Linked DNA regions of Homo sapiens: region 2 is linked to region 1. The links are contacts of gene promoters, found by promoter capture Hi-C in blood cells and fetal thymus (Javierre and others, 2016). All regions are on one chromosome and are shown on one strand. The core of a region is centred on a gene start or on the middle of the fragment in contact, and the rest is flanking DNA. Distances in the headings are between cores, read along the strand shown.

Region 1 (2,729 bases), core at 121-2,620:
TGTTCTCCTCCAGAAGGGTAAAAGGCAGGGACTTCAGCCACTTCTATTTATACTATTCTTAACTCTTGAATTCCTTTTGCCTTTTTATCTCAGAGAATCATTACAAGGGCCTTTTGTTATTTTAATGTATCAGCTCTCAGGGAATGTATGATCCTGGGTGGGTCTGGATCCTTTTTTTTTTTTTTGAAGTATACAGATGTCAATGTTAACAGCTAAAACCATTACCACAAGATATCTTCCTCTTAAAAAAAAAAAAGAAAAAGAAAAAGAAAATCTCCTATCTGCTTGTTTGATGGCATAGATTAGGGTAACAATGAGTGCTCCCACTGAGCCGAGAAAGGCATTGTGTTTCTATCTGGAGGAACTCTGTTTGAAGAAGCATCTACATGTTAAATGTATGTAAATAAATAGATTGCTTCCACGGGGTGTTTTGTTCTACTTAGAAATTCTTTTTGATTCAAGTAAATACTAAGGAATGTTATCTCTCAAATTGGAAGCAGTTTAACAAATCTTTAATCTCGCCCTTTTCCCACAGAGATGACTGATTTAGTAAATGTTACTAGTTAAGGAATTAATGCTAAAATTTTACTTTTATAAATTAAAATACTTCAGACACTCAAAAATTTAATTGGCAATCTTAAAACATTTAATCTGAATATTGGGGGAAGAGGAACTCCCTTAGCTTATTTTGCTAAATGTCTTTAGAACCTAGGAAATATTTTGAATATGTGTTTAAAGAAACAGGAAAGTTGGTGGAGGAGTTGCTCCAAGTCATTGTGAATGTATATATTTAGATATTTCCCTATTTACTTTTTATATTTAGTCATCTGTTATCACCATTTCTTTCCTTGTAGGAGCGAATGGATGGATTTGAAAAAAGAGTATTTAGCGCTACAAAAAGCTAGCATGGCTTCTTTAAAAAAAACAATATCCCAAATAAAATCAGAGTCAGAAATGGAAACAGACAGTGGAGTACCTCAAAACACTGGAATGAAAAATGAAAAAAGTAAAGATCACTGATAGTTTTGACAACATTATAATGTACTTATATATGTAAATGCTATCTCTGAGTTGTTATAAGATAAATTTTAATTTTAAAAAACTTGATTATTCTATTTCATTATTAGAACAATTCTTGATTTGTTAAGTTATCCAGATGTGTTACTTACTCTTGATATAAGAATATTTAAAAGGCTCATTTAAAACAATTTTTTAAATAACCTGAGTTTTCTCTACAGTTTTCATCAAGCACATGAGTGCAGAGTTTGCAGACTGAGCAAGTTTGTAGGAATGAAGATTGTAGTTTCTCACCTGTTAATTTCATTCTGTAGTATGCACCACAAGCAGGAACAAGTTAAAGCAGAATTCCTATGAATTCAAAATTAGGATACATTTTAAATTCTCATTTCTTGTAAAAATAAATGTTCACGTTTGAATAATAATGTATTTAAAACACAGTATCCTTTAACTTTTTTTTAACTTTATTGAGTAAAAATTTACTGTTCCTTTGTTCAGGGAGAAGGGGCAAATTTAAAGGCTTTACGAATGCTCTTCTAGCAGTAACAATTTGCATGTAGAATAATAAAACTTTCTGAGTTTTATTCATGGTATTTTGAAATAAGCAGTATGACATATAACCTTTAATTGTTTACTTTAAAATTAAATACGTTTTAAATTATTTAAATCTGCCTCAGGAATTATTCTAAGGTAGTCCTCCTAAGTATTAAATTGTTGTTAAGTGTAAGAGATTTAGTCCTGGTCTTTTTCCTTTTCTAATCAGCAGCCAACAGGGAAGAGTGTCGCACCCAGGAGAAAGTTAATGCAACAGGACCACAGTTCGTGAGTGGAGTGATTGTGAAGATCATTAGCACAGAGCCTCTACCTGGCAGGAAACAAGTCCGGGTAATGATTTTGAGCCCCTAGGGTATTTGTTCCTTTCTTCTCTTATTATTTCCCTGTGTGAAAATGTTTTGAATATGGAAGATAAAACAAATCAAGTTAGAATTTGTTTCCCTATGGTAAACTACTGTACAGTTTTAATTCCATGGTAACTCTTAGGTTTAATTTTGAAGCAAAATCTAGAGGCTGAAATTCCTCACTAAATCTATATGTAAGCACAGTTTAAACATCCTTCTCTATAGGAAAATTGTAACTTTTGCTTATTTTTATTGGCACTGATTTTTTTTGTATTACCTATGTGCTGATTATCTTTAAAATTTTAATTATAGAAAAGTAAAATATTTTTGAAAACCTCTTAAAATTTTTCACGCATGTGCCAAAAAACCCATACTTCTATATAATTTACGCTACAAATTGCTGTACATACAGGTTTATAATTTTTTCGCTTTATACAGTCTATCTTCTGTAGCCTTTTATACCACATTGGTAGCAATACTTTCTATTAGGGAAATTATATACTTTTAGGTGAGAGTACCATATCTTATTTACCCTTACCCTGCCTGTCACCCATTTAAGTGAATCCTTTTCTTTTTAAAAAGTGTGAAATGCTCTGTAACATACCACATATTTTAAGTATTTTCTTATACTGACATTCATCATCACTTAGTATGTTGTTTTGGTTTTACGTAGACTCATCAGTCACAGGTTTTAACTTGAATACCATTGAGGTGGTGGTTTGTTTATCTGTAAGCCCTCCTTATCTGAAATACTGTCCTACAATCCTATAGCTGTCACTAAGAAACAAATTTTGATCCTCTTTGCAATGTTGG
Region 2 (2,729 bases), core at 63-2,562, 200 kb before region 1:
CCTCTGGGGCACGCTCGTGCAGAGGAGCCAGGCCAGGCCAGGCCAGCACACAAGCATCTGAGTGGCTGGCCCCTTTGCCCCACTATAGACAAGTTAGCAGGATCTTTCCATGAGTATAGATAAAGATTAAGAGCAATGGACCCTGGAAGTCTTTGAAATATGCCATGTGCCAAGACTCAAAACTATAAATTGTTCTGCCAAAGGCATCTGAAAATGTCAAAGTCCTAGGATGTTGAGCCAAGTATTAAGGAAGATGATCTGAGAAGGAGCTGGATATTAGAGAGAGCTCCACTATTCAGCATGATCTTGATAACCTGCCACAGAATCGACCTGACTTCATCCCCTCCTGCCTTGTTTCCTCCCTCCATCCCTGTGGCATGGTCTGCACTGTCTAAGCTGATCTGGAACACCCACTCAACAAAAAGCTATCCCTAAGCATCTTTAGACAACCTATAAAAGCGAATTAAACTTGGCATCTCTAAAACTCTGCATTGCCAAGTATCAACTTTTATTACACTCAACTCTTGGTTATGAGAGGGGAGGAGGGAAATGCAAAGAATCACAAATAAGACTATTGTTTAAGATGCATCCTATTTAGGCCAATAACAAATTTTTGTTGCTAGTTAGTGGCTACGTAGTAGTTGATGATTGGGAAACAGACAGCTCCAAATTGTTCCAGATGCCAAGAGAAGGCCAGACTTTGTCATCAATAACTTAAAAATTAGATTGAGATACAGCTCCAGACGCGTTAAGCGCATTGGTCCTTTGGCATTTGTCAACTGCTTTACCTCCTTGTGCTAAAAATGCCATGCTCAGAACATCCACCAACAACAGTGTAGCTCAAATGCTAAAAAGATAACTAAAAAATATACTTTAGGAAAGTTAATGTTTTATAAATTGTAACAATCATTCCAGTTATCAAGAAAATATTGTTTCCAAGAAGCATTTTATAAGTTGGCACAACAGACCCATGGAATGGCCAGGAGGGAGTAGAAACCTTTCTAAGTGATTTATTGATTTACTATAATGTTTTCCACTGGAAAGATTAATGATATATTCCACTTTGCTGAAAATTACTTCTCTTTTGCTCCTGCAAAATAATCCTAGAGTTATTTTCTCTTTCGGACCCTAACAAAATTATATTTCTTACAGAAAGACTGAGAGAGCTACAGGCATCTAACTCTAAACGCAAAGTGTGATCTTTAAAGAAATACACTCACTTTTTTTTCTTTTTTTGAGAAACTGTTTAAAAATCCAGACTGTGAAAGGCTGCTTCTCAGTGAGAAAGGTCACTCTGAGTGCAGTGTCCACAACATTAACGAGAAATGACCCTTGTCATCACTCTCAGCATGGGAGACAGAAGAAACAAATGAAAAAACACACCCAAAAGATGGTTTCTAGAACAGACCACTTGGATAATAGATGAGACACTGTGCTCGTGGATCACATGGGCCTCCAGAGGCTTTGTTCCCACTGTGTATTATGGTATGCTGGGTGGCTTCATGTTGACAAAACTACGGGAACTTCAGGGTCTCAACCGGACCACCATCCCAAAGTGATGAAAATGTTGTCTAACTTCAAAGTTTAAGAATACTTCCTTAGTAACATGTTTCCAGTTTTAAAGTTGTATTTTCTTGATCACACTTCTTTCCCATGCAATCTTTTAGGGGAATAAATCAAGTGAAATATTTTTGTCCTATGATGGCCACACAATATTCCTCCCTGTTATGTAGCTGTTGGTGAGAAGGACTTCGGTAAGCACAATGAACTTTGTTCTTGCCACAGCAAAGAAAGAGTTAAATTCTAGACCCAGCTGATCCCCTGCCAGCAGGGATGTGGAGGAAAGAGTGGGTGCTCACTTTTCTCCCCATATTACCCAAATGCCTCTTTTATGCCCCATCCCCATCTTCTACACTCTCCTCTTTCTCGCTTTCTAAGGAGAAAAAATTGAAATTTAGAAACAAAGAATTCCGACACTCTGAAGTAATTCACGGGGCTTCACTCACTTTCAGGTCTTTCCTTTTCAGGGCAATAGTTTTTAGACTCAGCTGGTGATTAGGTCCTCTCTAGTTCTACCGCAGTCACTCTCACTAGGCCTCCTTGAAGGGGAGTGTCTGGTGAAATCAGACAGGAATAGTCCCAGCTCTGCTGCTCACTAGCAGAGTGGCACTGAGCAAGTTGCCTGGCCTCTTTACAGCCTTGGAGTGCCCATATGTAAAACAAGTATAAAAATCCCTACCTGGGTTTTGCTGTGAGGATTAGAGGTAATGCCTATGAAGGACTTAGCACAGTGGCTGGCACTCTTTGGTGTTCAAAGATAGGGTTTTTGTCTCTACTAAAAATACAAAAATTAGCTGGGTGTGGTGGCACATGCCTGTAATCCCAGCTACTTCAGGGGCTGAGGCAGGAGAATCGCTTGAACCTGGGAGACGGAGGTTGCAGTGAGCCAAGATCACACCACTGCACTCCAGCCTGGACAACAGAGCGAGACTTCCTCTCAAACAAAACAAAACAAAGATAGGGTTTTATTGTCATTATTACCCCAGCTGTTTTTCTGGTGTAGTCCTGATGAATTCATTTATTCAGTCCCACTCTCACCAACTGTGGCGGCCAAGATTAGTTAACTGCATGTGAACCCAGAATCTCCCCCAGACAGAAGGAGCAAACTTGGACCTAGGGATAAGCCATTTCTGATCAGGGTAGGGAGTGGGAAGTGCAAATAATAACAG

The links. The method cuts DNA at HindIII sites, captures the fragments that hold promoters and counts their contacts. A CHiCAGO score of 5 or more calls a contact.
Region 2: a contact is called between a fragment that was not itself captured here and the fragment with the promoter of MIR302CHG in region 1, in 1 of 17 cell types (neutrophils). The highest score is 5.0, in neutrophils.

Annotation. Positions count from the first base shown.
Region 1 is chr4:112,648,681-112,651,409 of GRCh38, forward strand. It overlaps MIR302CHG (miR-302/367 cluster host gene), which reads right to left and starts at 1,371. Exons shown (of 3, transcript NR_146092.1): 1 at 1,312-1,371. LARP7 (La ribonucleoprotein 7, transcriptional regulator) reads left to right here. Exons shown (of 13, transcript NM_016648.4): 9 at 855-1,006; 10 at 1,781-1,902. RefSeq lists an enhancer at 191-913. The HindIII fragment of the contact is 6,288 bases long and covers 1-2,729 here.
Region 2 is chr4:112,449,916-112,452,644 of GRCh38, forward strand. No RefSeq gene overlaps it. Among named protein-coding and RNA genes, the nearest start is that of NEUROG2-AS1, 64 kb to the right of the region's middle. The HindIII fragment of the contact is 9,571 bases long and covers 1-2,729 here.